2 separate regions of the Homo sapiens genome follow, and region 1 is linked to region 2. Evidence: promoter capture Hi-C in human tissues and cell types (Jung and others, 2019). All regions are on one chromosome and are shown on one strand. The core of a region is centred on a gene start or on the middle of the fragment in contact, and the rest is flanking DNA. Distances in the headings are between cores, read along the strand shown.

What was found. Contacts are between HindIII fragments. The study calls those that stand out against the background at their distance.
Region 1: a fragment that was not itself captured here is called in contact with the fragment with the promoter of STAT3 in region 2 in 1 of the 25 tissues and cell types used here (adrenal gland).

The regions. Positions count from the first base shown.
Region 1 is chr17:42,208,397-42,213,964 of GRCh38, reverse strand. STAT5B (signal transducer and activator of transcription 5B) reads left to right here. Exons shown (of 19, transcript NM_012448.4): 13 at 1,775-1,981; 14 at 3,468-3,562; 15 at 3,664-3,794. Among named protein-coding and RNA genes, the nearest start is that of GHDC, 17 kb to the right of the region's middle. The HindIII fragment of the contact is 7,783 bases long and covers 1-5,141 here.
Region 2 is chr17:42,384,638-42,390,211 of GRCh38, reverse strand. It overlaps STAT3 (signal transducer and activator of transcription 3), which reads left to right and starts at 1,770. Exons shown (of 24, transcript NM_139276.3): 1 at 1,770-1,933. RefSeq lists an enhancer at 1,050-1,319 and silencers at 1,840-2,119, 2,350-2,429. The HindIII fragment of the contact is 15,490 bases long and covers 1-5,574 here.

The DNA.
Region 1 (5,568 bases), core at 1-2,500, 180 kb after region 2:
TCACCATGTTGGCCAGGCTGGTCTCGAATTCTTGACCTCAAGTGATCCACCCACCTCGGCCTCCCAAAGTGCTGGGATTATAGGCATGAGCCACTGCACCCAGCCGACCTTATGCTATGTTAAAAAAAAGACTTTCAGCTGGGCACGGTGGCTCACACCTGTAATCCCAGCACTTTGGGAGGCCGAGGTGGGTGGATCATTTGAGGTCAGGAATTCGAGACCAGCTTGGCCAACATGGTGAGACTCTCATCTCTACTAAAAATACAAAAATTAGCTGGGCGTGGTGGTGCGTGCCTATGATCCCAGCTACTCGGGAGGCTGAGGCAGGAGAATTGCTTGAACCTGGGAGGCAGAGGTTGTAGTGACCTGAGATGGTGCCACTGCACTCCAGCCTGGGCAACACAGTGAGACTCTGTCTCAAAAAAATAAAAAATAAAAAATAAATAATAAAGACTTGTGGCCAGGCACAGTGGTTTATGCCTGCAATCCCAGCACTTTGGGAGGCCAAGGCAAGCGGATCTCTTGAGCCCAGGAATTTGAGGCCAGCCTTGTCAACATAGCAAAACCCTGTCTCTACAAAAAACACACAAATTAGCCAGGCATGGTGGTGCACGCCTGTAGTCCCAGCTGTTTGGGAGGCTGAGGTAGGATAATTACTTGAGCTAAGGAGGCAGAAGTTGCAATGAGCCAAGATTGGGCCACTGTACTCCAGCCTGGATGACAGAGCGAGACCTTACCTAAAAAAAAAAATAATTGTGGAAATTTATTCTCCATATATATTTGCCTATGTGTCCTGTGGGTCAAATAACATAAGAACATTGCAGCATTGTTAGTAATAGCTAAAGATGAGGCTGTAACACTGATGCCCATCTATGGGGGTCTGGTGAAATTTCTTTATGTGCTGATGGGAGGTCTCCCAGATAGAGGATTAAGTGAAAAGAGGAAGATGCAGAACATGTGGATTTTGTGCTGTCATTTGTGAAGAAAAGGAAAAGGTATATGTCATTGCTGGCATGCATAGAATATCTTTGGTGGGATACACAAGAAACTGTGTTAGGTGCCTTTAAAGAAAAGAACTGGGTTGCTGGGAGACAGGGATAGGGAGTGACTTCACTGTGTAGCCGTCTGTGCTTTTTGAATTTTAAATCATGTGAAAATCACCTATTGAAAAAAGTGTTTGTAACAAAATAAAATGGAGTACTATGGCTGAACGGGTTGAAAAGCAGTTTATTAAAAGTTAATCTTCTAACCTATTTCTCAATAAAGCCATCCAACTCAAAATTTCCACTCTTCCATACCAAGTTGTTTTACTTTGAGCTAGAATTCTTGGCAGAAGGAGTCGAGGGCAATGATTCCACGTGTGTACACACATGCCGACACGTGTGCACACATACGCACACTCTCTCTGTTTGTACCTAGAGGACCAGTCTTTCAGATTTCTAAATTCCCAAGGTGTTTACAATCTAAGAGCCAGACCTTGGTTATGTTTTGGTTTGTGGCCGTTAGAACATAGGATTTGACTGTTAGTTCAGCAGCTCATTTACAAAACAGCATGGATAGCATGGGTTACCTTCTAGTTGTGTGTAAAGAAGGTGAAACGGAACCTTCTGAATTTCACAGAACCGTGTACCCCAGCAGAGTCTGAATTTATCCTCAGGCCCTGCAAGACAAATGTGTGTAACCACTCCCAGCCATCAGCGTTTTTCTTTTGTGGCTTGAGGGAATAAATCATGCAACTGTTTTCTCATCAGATTCTGGCCTCTCTCCCTCTCAGGGCAGGGTGCCATTTGCCGTGCCTGACAAAGTGCTGTGGCCACAGCTGTGTGAGGCGCTCAACATGAAATTCAAGGCCGAAGTGCAGAGCAACCGGGGCCTGACCAAGGAGAACCTCGTGTTCCTGGCGCAGAAACTGTTCAACAACAGCAGCAGCCACCTGGAGGACTACAGTGGCCTGTCTGTGTCCTGGTCCCAGTTCAACAGGGTGAGGAGCCCAGCTGCCAGCCGCTGTTAGATCAGTCCTTCCCAACCAGATGCTCTCAGGAGTCTCCCTGCCCTGGGCCCTTATTCTTCATGTCTCTAATAAAATGTACCGAAAGTAATAGAAGCTTCTGACTAGATGGACAACTTGAGAGTTACCCAGGTCACGTGTAGAAAATTACATCTTTGCATATTTTAAATAAGTTGACCTTTGTCTACAGTTAATGCATTTTCTTCCTTTGTAAAGGAAATAGAGCAAAGCAGATGTTAACATAGCTCATGAGAAGCAAAGCTTTTGAGGGGATGCGAACTCTGGGCCTCTCTCCCCTTTACTCTCTTATGTTCCCCATGTGTAATGCCAGATCAGGCTCCTATGGGACCCTCAACCCACAAAGAGGGATGCTGATGAAAGAAACTCCTCCTCTAGCATCTGCTAATTCAGACGTCACTTTGATTTTATTTTTATTCATTTTTTTTTTTTGAGACAGAGTTTCGCTCTTGTTGCCCAGGCTGGACTGCAATGGCACGATCTTGGCTCACCGCAACCGCCGCCTCCTGGTTTCAAGCGATTCTCCTGCCTCAGCCTCCCGAGTAGCTGGGATTACAGGCATGCGGCACCACGCCCCGCAATTTTGTATTTTTAGTGGAGACGGGGTTTCTCCATGTTGGTCAGGCTGGTCTCGAACTCCCGACCTCAGGTGATCTGCCCGCCTCGGCCTCCCAAAGTGCTGGGATTACAGGCGTGAGTCCACTGTGCCCACCCTATTTATTTTTGTTTATTTATTTATTTTTGAGATGGTGTCTCGCTCTGTCACAAGGAGTGCAGTGGTACATTCTGGGCTCACTGCAACCTCCGTCTCCCAGATTCAAGTGATTCTCCTGTCTCAGCCTCCTGAGTAGCCGGGATTACAGGCACCCGCCACCATGTCCAGCCAATTTTTGTATTTTTAGTAGAGACGGGGTTTCACCATGTTGGCCAGGATGGTCTCAAACTCCTGACCTCAAGTGATCTGCCTACCTCAGCCTCCCAAAGTGCTGGGATTACAGACGTGAGCCACCATGCCCGGCTATCACCTTGATTTGAATTTAATTTTTGTTTCTTTTCCTACACCCCCCACCCCCAAGGTGTTTTAAATGTTTAATTTGGAGCCTAACAACGTGCATTTCTCAGAAGCTCCCAGGTGACACTGATGCTTCTGGTCACAGACCACACATCGAAACTAGCAAGGGACGGGTCAGCCCAGTCCCAGGTGAAAGTGTCTGTAGCAGGAGCCCACTGGGTGCTGGTAACTGCAGTTTGGTATTTTCCCCTTCTTCCCTCTTTTCCTCTCCATGGGGCCATTAGGTAAAACTCAGGTAGGCGGGGATATTTGTATGCCTCTGACAAGGGTAGATGTTTGTTTCCCATTTAATTTTTCCAATTAAATATGTGTATAATATTCCAAGTGTTACTCTGGTGTTCTTATGTTCACTGTTGTATCTCCAACCAGGAGAATTTACCAGGACGGAATTACACTTTCTGGCAATGGTTTGACGGTGTGATGGAAGTGTTAAAAAAACATCTCAAGCCTCATTGGAATGATGGGTGAGAATCATTATTTCTTAAGGCGCCGACAGAGTCTGAAGGTCTTCTCTCTGGCATCGTAAGTCACACTCTGCTTCTGTCCTTTGTCCTTGGTGATCCAGGGCCATTTTGGGGTTTGTAAACAAGCAACAGGCCCATGACCTACTCATTAACAAGCCAGATGGGACCTTCCTCCTGAGATTCAGTGACTCAGAAATTGGCGGCATCACCATTGCTTGGAAGTTTGATTCTCGTGAGTGCCCCTCCCTTCTTATGTCCAAAGTTAGCTGCTTTCGTTACAAAATTATTTTAACAAATAATTTAGTGGGTACTTACTATTTGTTGAGGTCAGTACTAATTATGGGAAACATAAATGTATAGCCATGACATACTCATAATAAGGCAGCCTATGAAAAATACTATTATGGGAAACACAATTGCTAATTTGGTTATACATGAAAGTATATGGCAGCATGGTTACACATGAACATTTAACCATGACATGGCTACCTATGATACAAGAGTCCGTGCAGAATCTCAGTTGCTTCCCTCTTAAAATGTTTGCCTTATTGTACTACTCTGCATAAAGCTTATTTCAGTGAAGAATTTGATGATTTGGAGTTCTTACAGTAGTAAAAATATTCCTTTATCCTAATTAACATATGGATATTGCCATCAACCATTTCTACCCAAGATGTTAGTTCTTTTCTTTTTTTGAAACAGGGTCTCACTCTTTTGCCCGGGCTGGAGTGCAGCGGCACAAACATGGCTCACTGCAGCCTTGACCTCCTGGCCTCAAGCAGTCCTCCTCCCTTAGCCTCCCGATTAGCTGGGACCACAGACGTGCACCACCACACCCATCTAATTTTTAAATTTTTTGTATGTTGCCCAGGCTGGTCTCGAACTCCTGGGCTCAAACAATCCCCCACTTTGGCTTCCCAAAGTATTGGGATTACGGGCTTGAGCCACTGCACCAGGGCATCAGGAAAGTTAGTTCTCTCCTCTGACCCTCACAATAAGGGTAGCTTGCTGGTTCATTTTCTGTGAATTAAAGTTTTTAATAACTTTTGGCTGGGTGCGGTGGCTCATGCCTGTAATCCCAGCACTTTGGGAGCCTCAGGCAGGAGGATCTCTTGAGGCCAGGAGTTCAAGCCCAGCTTGGGCAACATAGTAAGACCCTGTCTCTAAGTAAATAAATAAATAAATAAGTTAATTAGGTGGGCATGGTGGTGCTCATGGTGTGCGCCTGTAGTCCCAGCTACTCTGGAGGGTGAGGTGGGATGATCACTTGACCCTGGGAGTTCAAGGTTACAGTGAGTCATGATCACATCACTGTACTCCAGCCTGGGCAACAGAGTAAGACCCTGTCTCTTAAAAGAAAAAAAAAAAAAGGCTGGGTGCGGTGGCTCACGCCTGTAATCCCAGCACTTTGGGAGGCCAAGGCAGGCGGATCATGAGGTCAGGAGATCGAGACCATCCTGGCCATCACAGTGAAACCCCCGTCTCTACTAAAAACACAAAAAAATTAGCCGGGTGTAGTTGTGGGCACCTGTAGTCCCAGCTACTTGGGAGGCTGAGGCAGGAGAATGGCGTGAACCCGGGAGGCGGAGCTTGCAGTGAGCCGAGATCGCGCCACTGCACTCCAGCCTGGGCAACAGAGCAAGACTCCATCTCGAAAAAAAAAAAATTCATCACTTTTAATAGCTCTTATGCTTTCTCTGGTTGTGGGCATGCTTCCTAGCTTTTATATATCTTTGTATGGGAAATCAGGGATTGGGGGCCAGTAAAAACTGTTTCTTCTACTGAGGGCTAGAATACTGTTTGAACTTGAAACGTCTGAGATCATTGGATCTCTTGGGAAGTGATTTTTGTATTACCTGCTTATCTACCCATGGCTTTTATTTTTATTTATTTATTTATTTATTTATTTTTGAGATGGGGTCTCTGTCACCCAGGCTGGAGTGCAGTGTCATGATCTCAGCTCACTGCAACCTCCACCTCCCAGCTTCAAGCCATTCTCCTACCTC
Region 2 (5,574 bases), core at 521-3,020:
GTGTATAAGGTGTGTAAGTCCTTTGTAAGCAGTAAATCACTAAACAAATCCTAGACCCTATGTTATCAGGGAGGCAGTTGGCCGCACGGGATAGCGTAGTTACAAGAGACTATAGGCGGAGATGGGGGATATCTGTCCTGTGGTGTAGATAAACAGCCTAATCAATACACACACACTCTACAGGTAAATACAGCAATTTCCATACTGAGCTGTGTCTACCAGAGGGCAATAGGAGGTTCTCAATTCTCACCACCAGTGACCCTATGAATTGCCCTGTAGATGCCTCTGTCCCTCATTGGATATGAGGTGGTACGAGCGGTCTGAATCTGTAGACTTAGACAGGCTTCAGGTATCTGGGGAACCATGTGAGTAAAACCTTGTATTGTTTCTGGGGCTAGAATCTAGTCTCCTTCAAACACTCAGAAGGATCTGTGACTGCCTTCAAAGGTTAAGAGTCATTGATTTTTCTCACTAGAAATTAATAAGAACAGCTATCCTTGGGGAGAAGGAATGATGGGGGTAGGGAAAGATTTTCATTTAATATTTTTGACCTTTCTGAACGGTCTGCATTTTCTAAACAGGAACATGTATTAGGTTCATTGAAAAAAAATATGTCAGGGGTTAGCTGAGCAGTGAGATAATGGGTCCTTTTTAGATTTTTGTCTTTATACCTGTTCGTATTAAACAAACACAAATATTAATAACATATTTTTAAAGACCCAAAAAAATAAAAATTAAAAACCCTGATAGTATCAGCACATACACAGAAATCACTCCATTATGCAAAGTTCATCCTCTATTATGAAAGGCAAAATGTCTACATTTCCTATCAACCACTGGCTTCAATTCAGTAAAACTTGCATACCAAGTAGGCAAGGTGGAAAAGAAAAAGGCAGAACATTTCATGTATTTCAATTCAGACGCATAAAAATGTCAAGCCCTACACGTTATCAGCTTTCGTATACACCGTCTTCTGCATTCGCCTGTACGGGCCAATGGGCTAGCTGGTCGGCGTTTGATGCTTGAAGTGATGGAACGGAGTACGGGGTTAAATCCACTACCCTCTCCCCACGCACTCTAGTAATTACTCTATTTCCACGTCATGTTTCCGGGTGTGTGTGTCCCTGCTCACGCAGAAACTGAAGTTCAAAGCAGGCGGAGTCACCCATGTTCTTTTTGTTGTCCCCAGAACCCAATTCAGGAGTTGGGTCCCCAGAGGATCTGGAGATACCTGGGGACTATCTAACTAGCTGATTCCCGCGTGGTAAGAGGCTCTCAACCTCGCCACCACGTGGTGCCAAGGGCCGGGAAAAGGGAGAGCGGGCAGGAGGGAGCTGTATCAGGGGCATTTAAAGTGCCTTGACGTCACGCACTGCCAGGAACTCAGCTGAGTTTTCAGCAGGACATTCCGGTCATCTTCCCTCCCTCCCCCCGGGCTTCTGTGCCCAAGTCCTCGGCTCTTCCCTCGCTGTGGCGGAGGGAGGAGCACCGAACTGTCGGAACAGCCAGCACAGGGGCGTATCAGTCTCCTCTTGGCTCCGCCCTTTCTCCTAGCTGCTCTCCTCATTGGTCAGTGGGCGGGGCTTCGGCTGTACCGCACACGCACTGGGACCTCTGGGTGGCCGAACGAGCTGGCCTTTCATGAATTATGCATGACGGCGTGCCTCGGCCAGGCTGGGGCTGGGCGAGGATTGGCTGAAGGGGCTGTAATTCAGCGGTTTCCGGAGCTGCGGCGGCGCAGACTGGGAGGGGGAGCCGGGGGTTCCGACGTCGCAGCCGAGGGAACAAGCCCCAACCGGATCCTGGACAGGCACCCCGGCTTGGCGCTGTCTCTCCCCCTCGGCTCGGAGAGGCCCTTCGGCCTGAGGGAGCCTCGCCGCCCGTCCCCGGCACACGCGCAGCCCCGGCCTCTCGGCCTCTGCCGGAGAAACAGGTGAAGGGGGTGCAGGGTGGGGCCGTTGGGGAGGCCTGGGGACCCGGGGGCTCCGCAGCGGCAGGGGGCCTCTGGGACCTTGGGGATGTTGTGATGGACGCTGCAGTGGGGCCGGGAGAGATGAAGAGACGCGGAGGGTCGCCCTGAGGGAAGACTCTTCGGGATGACAGGAGCGGGCCTCGGAAGGGACTCGGGGCGCTGGAGGGAAGTTTCGTTCTTCGGAGAAACAGAACGCGCTCGAGGGGGCACCGTGGGGCGAGGGCGCACTCGGTTGCGGCGGCAGGAGTGAGGGACAGTCCCCCGATTTCCTGCTCCCTGGGGCCCTGGGGACGTTCCGGCCACCGGAGCGACTGTCACGCCGACGGGGATCACCGGCGCGAGTGGGGGGTCGGAAAGCGCCTCCTCCCCGCCCGGTCGGCGGCTCCCGCTGAGCCACTTCCTCCGCTTGCCCTGTTCCCGCTCCTTCAGGAGACAGCTGTGCCCTTTTGGAGGCAGGAATAGGTGTGTCTGTCGCCTGCAGCCTTACGGGCTGGCTGGTCGTGGGTAGGCTTTATTGCATAAGAATCAAGTTTCCTGTAGGGAAATTGACAGACCGGTACTCTTTCTAAATTCCCTCGCATCTTTTTCTAGGTTAAATTATGCTCCCCCCACGTCCCCGCCTTGTAAAAAAGAGAAAAAAAGACAAAATAAAATCCCCATCAACCCGTCAAGCCAGCTCTAGAGAGAGAAATAAACCTCTTGACATTGTCCTTTTCCAAATACCTGGTAAAGTCGGCCAGAAGATAAATAATTGAGCCATTGCATTTACTGGATTGTGGTGTTGCTTAATTGCATAGGACGGAATGAACCAATTGAGAGTGGGAGTTTTCTGTCTCAGAGCCAAGATCTTGGGTAAATGCAGAGGAGAGGGAAACAAAGACAGGCTGGCCTTGAAAAAACCATGTGTGCAAACTTTACATGCATTTGGGGGGTGTGGTTGCACTGAAGTTAACAAGATTCAAACCGTCGCCCAAGTTGGTATTTCCATGTTTGGTACACATCACTCTGTGCCATATCAGGTCGTTGTTAAGTGTGGTGACAAAATCAGTGGTTAGTCATTTTTTTAATTAAAAATGTGTATAGTGTGTACCTGCTGGTCTTACTGTATGTGCAACTAAAGGTTTACATAGTCTGTGTATGGGTTGTAAATTTTTGGCTGGCTGTGCTGATAAAGCATTGGGCTTGAATAAAGCAAAGCAGAAAATCATCTCAATCTTTTATATGTGGATTTAGACTGTGTTATGACTTGGTTCAGCCAGTTTTCTATCTTATTTTATATTAAATATGTCTGTGTTCTCTGAGTCAGCACATTTATTTCCTTATTACATGTTCCAGACAGGAGTGCTAGCCCAGTTTTTGTTCAGTTTGCACAGTGGGATGGGGAAACAAGTCTGGAATTTAAAAAAAAATGTTTTAGAGGTTGGAGCCTTGATTTTAGTCTCTATATTAGCACATCCATCACAAAGAACCATTAGTAAATTCATGAATCTTTTGTTTTTTATGTAGTTCATTTGAGAAGAATAATCACTTAGAAATATCCACAGTGCCAGGCATGGTGGTGCACACCTCTGATCCCAGCTAATTGAAGGCTGAGGTGGGAGGATTCCTTGAGTCCAGGAGTTGAGTCTGGTCTGGGCAACATGGTGAGAGGCCAGGAATTGGGTCTAGAGTCTAGTCTAAGCACCATAATGAGAACCCATCTTTAAGAAAGAAAGAAAGGAAAGGAGGAAGAAAGGAAAGAAAAAGAAATACCCACAGCACAGTTATGAATTAACCCACAAAGGACTTGTGAGGTGGGTAGTTCACATAACAATTACCCTAATATCGTAGATAAGAAAATTGAGGCCAAAGGATCAAGACACTTGGCCAACGCAGCAGAGTGCCATAGTGGTGGAATTTGTGCCTCCTTCTGTATATTTTGTGAAAAGTATCAGTGAAATTCTTTTTTTTTTTTTTTTTGAGTCAGAGTCTTGCTCTGTTGCCCAGGCTAGAGTGCAGTGGCGCAATCTTGGCTCACTGCAACCTCTGCCTCCTGGGTTCAAGCGATTCTCCTGCCTCAGCCTCCCAAGTAGCTGGGACTACAGGCGTGCGCCACCACGCCCAGCTAATTTTTGTATTTTTAGTAGAGACCGGGGTTTTACCATATTGGCCAGGCTGGTCTTGAACTCCTGACCTTGTGATTTGCCCACCTCTATCTCCCAAAGTGCTGGGATTACAGGTGTGAGCCACCGCGCCCAGTAAGTATCAGTGAAATTCTAACATATATCTGAACAGTAAAATACCACCAATAGGCTGAAAGACTTCATGGGAGGTAAATATTCAATAAACAGGTGAAAAAAGAAATACAAATGGAGCTTGCTTAGATTATTTTTCTAATTGCTATGTCTAACTTGGGAAGTGAGGAACTGTTTTTGGTCAGCATAATTTACCATCAGAATTTAGCTATTTACTAATGAAAAGAAATACTAATCTAGGTTTGTTTTAGATTAAGGACAGTCATGACCTAAATGTCATTTAAACCAGAGTGCATTGTGGCTTGATCAGTGGTCATTTCTGTCTCTAGAAAGTTGCTTTAACTTCTCTGCCTCTACGTGTCTCTTGACATTCAGATATGAGGTGGGGTAGAGGTGGTGACCAACTTTCCAGACGCCTGAGTCCAAACCTTCTTAGCTTATGGTTTTCTTAGGTGATGTGCAAATCAACAAATATATACTTTTTTTTTTTTTTTTTTGAGTTGGAGTTGCACTCTATCACCCAGGCTGGAGTGCAGTGGCATGATCGTGGCTCACTGCAACCTCCTCCTCCCGGGTTCAAGTGATTCTCGCACCTCAGCCTCCTGAGTAGCTGGGATTACAGGTGCCCGCCACTACGCCCGGCTAATTTTTGTATTTTTAGTAGAGATAAGGTTTCACTATATTGACCAGGCTGGTCTCAAACTCCTGACCTCAAGAGATCTGCCCACCTCAGCCTCCCAAAGTGCTGGGATTACAGGCGTGAACCACCTTGCCTGGCCAACATATATATACCTTTTGCAACTTTGTCAGAGTTGCTATGAAGAATAAGTTGTATCTTGTTCACAGAAATTGCAGTCTACTGGGGGAGCTGATAAATGTTTTAACCATCCAATGTAACATGTTGTCATCAAAGAGATGGTGAGACTTTACACTTGTGCTAACAAGGTAGCTGTTCTACATAAAAGAACATACAGTACAGATGTAGAACTTTTCTGTTATCATAGAACGTTCTATTGGACAGTGCTAGGCTGAATGCTACAGATCTTCAGAGAAAGGAGAGGTTATGAGGCCTGGAGTTGTCTAGAAAGTCTTTTTGCCAAAGAGGGATTTCAACTGGGTCCCAAATAATGGGTGGAATTTGATAGGTGTAAAGAATTTGCGGTGGTTTATGCCTGTAATCCCAGCACTTTGGGAGGCTGAGGCAGGAGGATTGCTTGAGCCCAGGAGTTTGAGACCAGCTTGGGCAACGTGGTAAAACTCCCTCTCCCCTAAAAATAAAAAAAATTAGCCAGGCCTGGTGGCGTGGACCTGTAGTCCCAGCTACTGGTGAGACTAAGGTGGGAGGATCACCCAAGCCCCGGGGGTTAA